Regions from separate parts of the Homo sapiens genome. Here region 1 is linked to region 2. Evidence: promoter capture Hi-C in human tissues and cell types (Jung and others, 2019). All regions are on one chromosome and are shown on one strand. The core of a region is centred on a gene start or on the middle of the fragment in contact, and the rest is flanking DNA. Distances in the headings are between cores, read along the strand shown. Region 1 overlaps LINC03036 (long intergenic non-protein coding RNA 3036). Region 2 holds the start of NANOS1 (nanos C2HC-type zinc finger 1).

What was found. The method cuts DNA at HindIII sites, captures the fragments that hold promoters and counts their contacts. A contact is called where the count stands out against the background at its distance.
Region 1: a contact is called between a fragment that was not itself captured here and the fragment with the promoter of NANOS1 in region 2, in 1 of the 25 tissues and cell types used here (H1 embryonic stem cells).

The regions. Positions count from the first base shown.
Region 1 is chr10:118,798,877-118,804,806 of GRCh38, reverse strand. The region is part of intron 3 of LINC03036 (long intergenic non-protein coding RNA 3036); the gene reads left to right. Among named protein-coding and RNA genes, the nearest start is that of CACUL1, 47 kb to the right of the region's middle. The HindIII fragment of the contact is 5,883 bases long and covers 157-5,930 here.
Region 2 is chr10:119,026,792-119,032,350 of GRCh38, reverse strand. It overlaps NANOS1 (nanos C2HC-type zinc finger 1), which reads right to left and starts at 2,637. Exons shown (of 1, transcript NM_199461.4): 1 at 1-2,637. The coding sequence starts at 2,549. The coding sequence ends at 1,671. LINC03036 (long intergenic non-protein coding RNA 3036) reads left to right here and starts at 2,780. Exons shown (of 4, transcript NR_186540.1): 1 at 2,780-3,006. RefSeq lists silencers at 1,566-1,865, 2,236-2,445, 2,566-3,035 and an enhancer at 2,860-3,360. The HindIII fragment of the contact is 19,263 bases long and covers 1-5,559 here.

The DNA of each region.
Region 1 (5,930 bases), core at 1,849-4,348, 230 kb after region 2:
TTGGCGTGGGACTGCTCCATATCAACTCCCACCTCCTCCAGGAAGCCTTCCTGGTCCCTCTGGCCATAGGGAATCTCTCCCTTCCTCCACTTTGTCCCCATCTCTTATAGCACTTCTCCCTCATCTGCAGTTTCCAGCGTCATTTGTTTATCTTGTTCCTGGGGGCAAGGGTTAAATTGCCTTTGTGTCTGCTCATTCCATAGGCCTGGCAGAGTGCTGACACATAGTAGGTGTTCAATAGATGGGTTGCCAGATTGAGCTGAAAACTTCCAGTGAAAAGAGTCTGTAGCTTATGTGTCCTGAGTCACACAGACACAGACAGCCAAGTGTCCTAATGCCCTTTGTGCCTAATTCTGGCATAAAGACACTTTCTCCTGCAGAGAAACTTCCCAGTCCCACAACTCCCCCAGCAAGTGAGCAGTGAGTTTAGAGTAAGGAAGGCTCCCGAGTAACCTTCTCCATGGTGACATCGGCCACTGGCAGGCAGGGCTTAAGGGAGGACTGAATTGGTTTCTACCAATATAGAGGCTGGTGTCTTGTCTTTTCTTCCTTTCTTCCTATTACTCTTTAAATAAAAGCAATAACTGCGCATGATATAAAAACTTGACCAGTACAGAAAGATCTAGAAAAATGATTAAAATCTCCCTGCTTTTCTCTGACCCCAATCCTCATCCCCAAAGTTTCCTATGTATCCCACCAGAAAAAAGTATGCATGTATCTACATATAAATATATATCATTTTAAACAGTTACATAGGGGAGCAAGGTATACGTACACTATTCCATATCTGGCCTTTCCCCCATTTATTTAATGATATATCTTCAGGGTCTTTTACTCTGAGTCTAGAACTTTGCCTCCTTATGTCTAATCACTGCAGACTATTCTGTTGTATGGATGGGCTGAAATTGATTTGGCCTGCTTTGACAAACTGAGAGTCATTTGGGTGGCCTCCAACTTTTGGAGTGACCGTCACGTGTGCACAGCTCGATGTTTTTTTGTCCATGTATCCATTAGGGGGCACCTAGTGGTAGAACCGCAGAATTAAAGGAAACCTGCATTAGAAATGTCAGCTGAGGCCCGGCGCGGTGGCTCACACCTGTAATCCCAGCACTTTGGGAGGCCAAGGCGGGAGGATCACTTGAGGTCAGGAGTTTGAGACCAGCCTGGCCAAGATGATAAAACTCCGACTCTACTAAAAATGCAAAAATTAGCTAGGCATGATGGCGGGCACCTGTAGTTCCAGCTACTCAGGAGGCTGAAGCAGGAGAATCGCTTCAACCTGGGAGTCAGAGGTTGCAGTGAGTCAAGACTGTGCCACTGCACTGCAGCCTGGGAGACAGAGCAAGACTCCGTCTCAAAAAAAAAAAAAAAAAAAAAAAAAAGTCAGCAGAATTGCTAGAAAGACTGTACCTGCTACTTTCCCACCAGCTGGGTAGAAGGGCACGGCTGGTTTCCCAGCAGGCACCAGTACCTGAGACACCTTTGCCCTTTGTTCAGGGTGTGCCCTTTGTGCTCTGGGGAGCTGTCCTCCTCGGCTCCCTCTCCTTTCCTCTGTCCTGCCTCAGGTTCTGTCTCTGGTCAGGTCTTCGGGCTGCCAAGCTCCCAAGTGAAAGTTGAAGCATCAGGCAAGCCTATTGTTTGGCACCCAAGATGCTTATCAGTAAATCAGTTCAAAAGTAGCCTGAGTTCAAGTGTTCTTTAAAGGTGAACCAATCAAGTTGATCTGGTGGAATTTATTCAAATTTTTGTACCCTCTTAATCTCTATGTAGAAAAGATGAAGAAGGCCCAGCATGGTGGCTCAGGCCTGTAATTCTAGCACTTTGAGAGGCCGAGGTGGGAGGATTGCTTGAGCCCAGGAGTTCGAGACTAGTCTGAGCAATATAGTGAGATCCCCATCTCTACACAAAATAATAAAATTTTAAAAAAGCAAAGAGGAATAGATGTTCATTTGAATCAACGTATACAATTTTGGTGGAAGGGCTATGTGTATCTGAGAGCGGCAAGACCAGACCAAGTGATGTAAGGCAAGCAGGTCCAGAGTCAGAGGCTCCTGCAGGCCCCACAAGGATTAGGGGCCCCTAGGACACAGGCTGTGCCTGCGTGAGCGGCCCCTGTCAGCCACCCCACCACGCCCTTTTCCCTTCCCCCACCATGCTCCAGACATGTCTGGACTTTCTTCCAGGCCTTGCTAAGGGCTCATGACCCATGCTCTGCCTCTTCCTGGACCCCTCTTTTCTGCCTTCCACACGGCCAGCTCCTTCTTACCTTCAGGTCTCAGAGAGGCCTTTCCTCCCTCTGTCCTCCTCCCCACTCTTCCAAAGGACACTCGGCCAAGTCCTTCACAGCATCATTCTGTCCTTATTCACATCTGTTTGTTTGTTTTGTTTGCTGTCTACCTTCCCCGCCATAGGGTGTCAGCGCCACGCCCTGCCTATCAGCGCAGTGCCCAGTGCACAGGGCCTCATGCGAGGAGTCACTTGGTAGATGTGGAATAAAGGCATGCATCTGGCTGGGGGGGGGGTGGCTCACGCCTGTAATCACAGCACTTTGGGAGGCTGAAGTGGGCAGATCACAAGGTCAAGAGATCGAGACCAGCCTGGCCAACATGGTGAAACCCTGTCTGTACTAAAAATACAAAAATTAGCTGGGCGTGGTGGTGCACGCCTGTAGTCCCAGCTACTCAGGAAGCTGAGACAGGAGAATCTCTTGCACCCAGGAGGCAGAGGTTGCAGTGAGCCGAGATCGTGCCACCACACTCCAGCCTGGCAACAGAGTGAGACTCCGTCTCAAAAAAAAAAAAAGGCATGCATCTATGAATGAAAAACCAAATTAGGAAAAGTGAAGGAGGAAAGAAAAAATTAAAGGAGATCTTCAGTGAAAGTAAATAAGTCCCCCGCTTCACCAGGCAGCAACAAAGAGGAGCGTCCACTTCTGGTGGAGATCAGGCTACATCAGCCACTGCCATTTCCTGACCTAGGAGCTCCTAGTCCCTCTGAGGAGGTGGATCCTCTGAGAGGGCAGTTGCTATGGAGGTGGAGCCGAGAGGTGATTCCTGGCTGCTCCCAGACTATGCCAAAGAGGCAGAGAGATGTGGTAAGTGTACAAGAATGACACAGGAGTTTATGGGAGTTCAAAGACTCTCTGACCAGTCCGAGAATAAAGCATTAGGGAAAAAGGCACTGGGGAGAAGTTGCCAGGAATTCTCAGCATCAAGCAGGAGGTTACCCACTTAATGTTTGGTATGGCGTTAGAGGCTGTCCTCAATGGGATAATCAGATAAGCATTTTTTTTTCCCGAGACAAAGTCTTGTTCTGTTGTCCAGGATAGAGTGCAATGGCATGATCTCGGTTCACTGCAATCTCTGCCTCCCGGGTTCAAGCTATTCTCCTGCCTCAGCCTCCTAGGTAGCTGGGATTACAGATGCCCGCCACCACGCCCGGCTAATTTTTGTATTTTAGTAGAGATGGTGCTTCACCATGTTGGGCAGGCTGGTCTCAAACTCCTGACCTCGTGATCTGCCCGCCTCAGCCTCTCAAAGTGCTAGGATTACAGGCGTGAGCCACCACACCTGGCCCAGATAAGCATTTTAAACACTGACACCCCTAATTGCTCTGTTACAGGACATAACAGATGTGGACTGTCATACACTAACTACTGAGAAAAATAATTTGAGCTGCCCCCAGGTGGTGCTGCCTGCCAGCCAACCATTCACTGTGGGCAGTTGCTCTCTTTGTTCAACAGAACATGCGTAACTATTTGAACATTTTACTGTGCTTTGTCCATGTTGTTTTACAAAAACAAGTGGAAAGTAGAAAAAAAGAGTAATCTCAAAAATAAGCAATATAAGTTTTCTATGCTTAATACACTTGCTTCCAAAATGGAGATCAGTGGCCAATCTTTGAGTTCAATTGAATGCTTACTGGACTTAAGTGGGTCCACTGTAGACTTAATGGCAAAGGAAAAGAACAACATATAAGAAAATGCTATAAATATGTAACTGGAATTTAAAACTATTTTGGACCTCTCAGAATCAGGGCCACTACGAGCTAAATGGTGTCTTGTGCAAATTGGGAAAAGGAATTCCTTTCTTTTCTGGATAAGTACAACTCTACATCAGGATACACATCTAGATTTCAGTCTAACCCTTGGTCAGATGCCCTTGTGTAGTGTACAGCCTTACCAACTCTACAGTGCTGCCTGGGATGGAACAACCACTTATAATGTGTAAGTCTCTAATTGCACTCTATACAGTTAATTTGATACATATTTTCATATTTACAAAAGCAGAGGACTGCCTGTGTACAGTTTTTCTGTTCACTTACTTGTAAATTAGAAGGCTTGTCTCATATTTGAGACATACCTATGCAATTTGAGAATGCAGGATCATTAACTATGAAAAACTGCCTGAAGGGCAAGACCAGGGTTCACATTCCCCTCCTTCAGCAATCCTACTGCCTTTTTAGAGCAGAAGCTGCTCTTTACCTTGTTTCCTAGTTATTTGGATGGCTTCTTCCTTCTTCTACTAGATTGTCAACTCTCTGAGGGCAAGAGCTGTTTGTCTCATTTGTCTCTTTACTTCTAGCAAACAGTACAGAAACTTGTGGGGGTTCGTTGATTTCACTTTGATAGACAATGACAAGAATTTCTGCAATAATTGTTGTTATAATGCAGAAGGGTTGATATATTTTCTCCAGGTGCTTGTACCTCTGAGCTTCTATAGCCTTCTGAGCATATGCAGCACCTGGCTAACTGATTTGCTTTTATTTTAGAGGTTGATGGGAAAACCACTCAGACACCAGGAGGTGTTATGGCTCATGGACGTTTGTTAAGTATCAGATGTTACTCAGGACTGAGTCATGCCTTTTCAAAAGGACTGCATTTGGAGACTGGCGGGTTCTAGCACTTTCAATGAATAGTGCATTTTTTTTTTTAGTGGGTTCCTTCCTATCCATGCCTGGGAGCATGGGCTGAGCTTTTGGAGTAAGCCAAATGGGATAAAGGGTCAGATGTCGGAAAAAGGAAGCACCCACAGTGGCCGTACATGTGATGGGCTTTTGGGCAGCACCACGGACCATGGAATGGAATGGCTTAGGTCCTCTTCATGAAGAAATAACTCTGGGATACACTTAGGAAAACTGCAGGACCCTTTCAGTTGGCCACACAATGGAGCTGCATCAGCTGGGTGCTGCCTCAAAGAGGAGTGAGTTGTGCTCATTTCCCGAATGTTGCAAATCTGGAAATTATCTTACGTTGGAAAAGCGATGACTGTTCCTGCACTCTCCCCCAATTTCCTGAAAACTTTGATTTTTTTAGGATATTCTGAGAAGAGTAAAAACCCACGGCTGTGGCCAGGTGTGGTGGCTCACATCCGTAATCCTAGCACTCTGGGCGAGAGAGACATCAGGTGGATCACCTTAGGTCAGAAGTTCAAGGCCAGCCTGGCCAACACGGTGAAATCTTGTCTCTACTAAAAATAAAAAAATTAGTCGGGCTTGGTGGCGCATGCCTGTAGTCCCAGCTACTCGGGAGGCTGAGGCAGGAGAATCGCTTGAATCCGGGAGGTGGAGATTGTAGTGAGCCGAGATCACGCCATTGCACTTCAGCCTGGGCGACAAGAACAAAACTCTGTCTAAAACAAACCAACCAACCCACAGCTGCTCCTTCTAAGCTATGTTTTATGCCACAGGCCCTTGGGTAATGTGTTTCCGCTTCTCCCCAGATAGAATACCACTCATTTTAGCTTAATGTCTTTGTTCTTGAAATTGTCCGTCTCACCCAATCTTCCTCCCATCTCAGAGGCAGGAATAAAGCTTACCTTGTTCAGCAAGCAGAGTACTGGCTCTTGGGTGGAGGAAATGTATTCACAATTTACAGATAAACCTCACAAAGTTGTTTCTGATCAGCAATTGCTTTGAGAGTGAATCTCTCC
Region 2 (5,559 bases), core at 1,388-3,887:
TAAGAAACATTGTGCTTTCCTCCTGCCCCCCAAGTTCTTGAAATGCACCTTTTCTTTCACCAAAAAGACAGCTATCGGGTATTTACCCCATCCTCTAACACACCTTCAAATGAAGGTTCCTGATTGAGTCAATTTGCTGTGGATGAAGTTAGCTGTTTAATGCGAAAGCAGTCTAACTTCTAGTAGCCTAGCTAAATCCTACTGGGAGCCTTATACACGTAGACTAAACTCTTGCTGGTATCTTCAGATAGTAATGCATTTGTGTATTTCAGATGAGTTCATCTTAATTCACTTCCATTTTTTGCCTTCTATTGCCTTGCTTGGCAGGTAGCTGCATTCCATAGTGTGGCATTCAGTATGGTGGATTTAAAAGTGAGGGTGGGAGGGTAAAGTAGGGGTTAGGAACTTTTGCCCAAGGATCAGGTTTAGTCTTGCTTATGGGTAAACTGGTGGGGTTCCGGAAACCGACATGGGTCTTCCAGTAGGAGTGGGAACACATGAAGGACCCCCAACAATTCCTTTAATTAGTGCTTATTCTAGTTTGAGCACTGCCTGTATTAAAGTCAGACGCAGCCCACGGTGGAACCTTCTTGAATACGAGTTAATACACGAATAGCTCAGAGCTAGAGATCCATCTTCTATTTGTTTGACAGGCAACAGCTGGAATGGGCTTTCCTCCACTAGGAACCCTGAAATTGAGTAATCTAGGGTGAATTAATACTGCTGTCTTCCCTTCCTCCCTTTGATCTTAATATCATAAACGTTTTTAAAGAACTGGAAGAGGGTGAGTGTGTAGAGAAAATGCCAAGTAGGAAAGTTACAGGTGAGATTAATGAATTCATACTGTTACTGTATAAATACACAATTTTTTTAAACAGCACCATTTCCAAGTTATACACAATATGATTATGACTTGGCACAACTTTTAAAGGTGGAAAAGGCTAGTTGCTAGTTCAGTAATAAAATACCTGGTACATAGAACGATAAGGAGCTGTATTCTACCTGCTACACATTGTGCATTTTACACCTCCAGCTAGGACAGAAACAAGCCACAAGCGGGGAATACCCGCCCAAATTAATACTGGAAAGTTTACAAAACCTTCACTTCTCATAAGGGTGATGCTACCAGCGGCTTGCTTCACCTGGAATTAGAGTAACTGATTTTTAAAGACAACTGAGAATATTAACTCGCTTCAAACAATAAAATAGTCATTTTGCCGACATTTCATAAAATCGCCAGTTTTAAGCTCAGTTCAGAGGCTTTTAAAAAAATATTCTAGACCTAGTAAAGTGCCTCCATTCATAAAATGAAACATCCAAGATTGAGACAATTTCATACTGATGCGCATCTAAAATAGGTCGACGTATACAGTAAATAAACAGCGCCTCTAAGTTGCCATATTTCAGTTAGTGGAATACACACCCAGCCTTCGCCGTTCTGGATGTGCAAACTAGAAACTGAAGACAAATGGGGATTTCAGCGTCTAGTCCCAATCGTTCAGCACGGAAGTACTCCACACGGTCGGCTGCTTTTCAAAAACCACCAGGACGACGTCCCATGTCGAGCCGACCGCTGAGCCGCACGCCTCCCCACGGCGGGGGCGAGATGGTGCGCAGACCTAGCGGTGCGAGGGGCGGCGGCGACCCTGGGCGGCCGGGAGCCCGGGCCTTCAGCGCAGCTTCTTGCCAGGCGGGCCGTCCCTGGCGCTGCGGGGCGGCGGGCGGGCGGGCGGCGGCGGCACTTTGGAGAGCGGGCAGTACTTGATGGTGTGCGCGTTGTCGCCGCTGGCGCCGCACAGGGGACACGTGTAGCGGCGCAGCACGGGACACAGCACTCGCCCGTCGGGGCCCTTGAGGATATGGGTGGTGTAGAGCGCCATCGCCTCCTTGTTGTTCCGGCAGAACACGCACACCTGCAGCTCGGGCTTCAGCAGCCGGGCGGCCGCCGCCCCGGAGGCCGCGTGCAGCCGGGGCTCGGCCGCCCACGCCGGGGCCCGCTCCTCGCGCGGCGTCGCCTCGCTGGTGGTGGTGGCGGCGGCGGCGGCGGCGGGCGCGCAGCCCAGCAGCACGGCGGCGGCACGACCCGCGAACGGGCTCAGCTCGGCGAAGCGCTCCTCCAGCAGCCCGGCCTCGGCGGGGCCCGCGCACAGCTCCAGCGCGCGCAATTCCAGCGCGCTCCCCAGGTAGCGGCCCCGGGACCCCGGCTCGTCGCTGTCGTCGTCGTCGTCCTCGTCGTAGTCGGGCGGCCCCAGCGCCGGCCCCAGCGCCCCAGGCCCGGCCCCCGTGTGGGGGGAGCAGCAGGACGACGAGGAGGAGGAGGGCGGGGAGCCGCCGCCGCCGTTCCCACCGCGGGCGCAGCCGAAGCGCGGCTCGCCGTCCACCGCTTTGGTGATGAGCGTGGCGAGCCCCAGGTAGTCGTTCCAGGAGCTGAAGGGCTGCGGGTGCGCCGGGCCCGGGGCGCTCACGTAGCGGGCGCTGGGCACGAGCGCCATGGGCGGGGGGGCGCGGCCGCGGCGGGGCGAGCGGGGCGCCCAGGGGAAAGCCTCCATGGGCGGGCTGCGGGCCGCGCGCCGCCTCCCCGCCGCCGGCGCGGGCCGGACGGAAGGGACACGCCGAGCCTGCCCGCCGGCCTGCCGCGGGGTGGGGCCGCCGCGCCGCCTTTTATCGGGCCCACTCCTCCCCGCCCCCCGGCCTCGCCGCCGCGGCCCTGCCCCCTGCGTTCCCCCGCCCCGGCCACCTCGCCCGCGCCCCGGACGGAGGCGGAGCGGAGGCGGGCTGGCTGTGTGCGCGCTCCGCTCCAGCCCGCGCGGCTCCCGCGCCCCGCGCGCTGCGCCAGCCTCGCCAGCTGTCGGGCGGCCTTCATTCCGGGAGGGGGCGGGCGAGGCGCCGCCTCGAGCCGTGGCGCTCATTGGCTGCAGACCAGAGCCCCCCGGCGCCTCGGGCGCCGCTCCGGACGCTGATTGGTGGGAACACGGGGAGGGGGCGTGTTCTCCGCGCAGCTGGGAGGTGAGGAGAAAGTAGGGGAGAGAAGGGCCGGGAAGGGAGGGCCGCTGGGGCCCGCATTCGAGCGCCGGGCCTGGGCTTGGAGCAGGTGACCAGGCCTGGGTCTCCTCGGCCTGGTGGTGAGGCCCCCCGAGGACAGGGGTCAGGGTGGCCACAGGTTTACGCCCCCACCTCCCAGCCTTTAATGGCCCTAGGCCCTAATCCTGAGAATCCCCGCTATCCACCCCCTTCTCACCAACATCAGCATGAAAAGCTGGACGCGTTGGAAGGATGCAGCTCTCCCATCACAGCCGCCCAACCAGCCAGTGGCTTCCGTTTGCACCGCGCGTTGGAGCGCTTTCCCCTGGGCGAAATCCATACAAACCCTGAGGTTCGGGGAGGCTGTGGTTCCTGCCGCGGTAAGAGCGGAGGGACGCAGGACTTTCCGGCTGCACGCAGCAGCCTTCCTCCCAACAGGTGCTCAGGGACTTCAGCCAATGGGTGGCCGATAGCCGGTTACTTAGGTCGGGGTTGGGGCTGGGCCGGAAAATCTCATGGCTGGAGAGCCTAGGACAGTGACTGGGATGTGTGTGTGTGTGTGTACCCCCTCGCCCCAGAGGCCTGAGTCAAAATGTGGGTTGTATGTGCAGTTTGAAAAACAACGTGTATTCAATGTTATATTTTGTCTTCCTTCCTTCCTTCCTTCCTTCCTTCCTTCCTTCCTTCCTTCCTTCCTTCCTTCCTTCTTTCCTTCCTTCTTTCCTTCCTTCCTTCCTTCCTTCTTTCCCTCCTTCCTTTTCTTTCTTTTTTTTTCTTTTCTTTCCGCATCCCGGGTTCAAGCAATTCTCCTGCCTCAGCCTTCCAAGCAGCTGGGATTACAGATGCCCGCCACCATGCCGGGCTAATTTTTTGTATTTTAGTAGAGACGGGGTTTCACTATGTTGGCCAGGCTTGTCTTGAACTCCAGACCTCGCGATCCGCCTGCCTTGGCCTCCCAAAGTGTTGGTGTTACAGGCGTGAGCCACCGCGTCTGGCCTCTTTCTTTCTTTCTCACTCTTTCTTTTTTCTTCTTGATTTTTCTTTTTTCTTTTTTTTTTTTCTTGAGACAGGGTCTCACTATGTTGCCTAGGCTGGTCTTGAACACCTGGCCTCAAGCGATCTTCCTGCCTTGGCCTCCCAAAGTGCTGGGATTACAGACATGAGCCACCACACCTGGCCTCAACATTATAATTAAATACTTTGAAATGAATAAAACATGTTGTGTAAAAGCCATGGAGAATAAGAGCCAGAAGATGAGTTTTGATTAGGAAGATGGCAGGTGGTCTTACACTTCCCAACTTTTTTAAAAATTGAAAGTAGGAAAGGCTTTAGATACTGAGGGCTCTTCTAGGATGAAACCTAGAACTGGGATCAGGAAAATGCCTCCCCTGGCAGGTGGGCCCTGGCAGGGTGGGCTTCATGGGGCAGATGGGGCTTTCCTTCCTCACTCTGGACCATGCAGTGGCTGTGGAAACAATGAGCCCTCACTAGGCCTGAGGCCACACTCACAGGTCTTGGCTGTGCCCAGCAGGTTTAGAATGGCTCAGCAGGGGATGCCCAGAACCTAGTGCTGGCATTGGTTAATATTAGAATGAATGAATGAGGGAATCAGAATGTCAGCATGGGAAGGGATCTTTGGGATCATTCTGTTCGATCTTTTCTTGCCTTTTTCTTTTCTTTTTTAATAGATGGGGGTCTCGCTATGTTGCCCAGGCTGGTCTTGAACTCCTGGCCTCAAGTGATCCTCCTGTCTTGGCCTCACAAAGTGCTGGGATTGCAAATGTGAGCCACTGCACCCAGTTCTGTCCAATCCTTACAGATGAAGAAAATGAGACCTAGAGAAGAGTAGGATTTCTTTTTTTTTTTTTGAGACAGAGTCTCACTCTGTCGCCCAGACTGGAGTGCGATGGCACGATCTAGGCTCACTGCAATCTCTGCCTCCTGAGTTTAAGCGATTCTCCTGCCTCAGCCTCCTGAGTAGCTGGGTTTAGAGGCATGTGCCACCATGCCTACCTAATTTTTGTATTTTTAATAGTGATGGGGTTTCACCGTATTGGCTGGTCTCAAACTCCTGACCTCAGGTGATTTGCCTACCTTGGCCTCCCAAAATGCTGGGATTATAGGTGTGAGCCACCGCACCCAGCCAAGCAGGACTTCTTTAAGGCTACAGTGACTATGTGACAGAACTAAGACTCTGGTCCTGTTACTCCCGGCCGGGTGGCCTTCTCACTACACCCTGGACCAGCAAGGTATCTCAGACAATAAGTCTGTGCATGCATCCGCAGAACTCTAAGGCACAACACAGGGGAAGCTGGAAAGAAGTGAGGTGAGGTGAGGCGATATGGCCTTGGCTGGGGCCCCTGCCCTCAAAGAGCAATCCAGGGCTCTGGCTGGCAGGCGCGGGAAAGGACCTGAAGCAGTGAAGTGAGGCCTGTTCTGGCCGCCTCTCTGGGTTAGGGGTTAAAGATCCATGTTTCGGCCTCTTCCTTCTAGCCCCCGATGGTTGATGTAAGTCATGAAACCAGGCAGTAATATTCA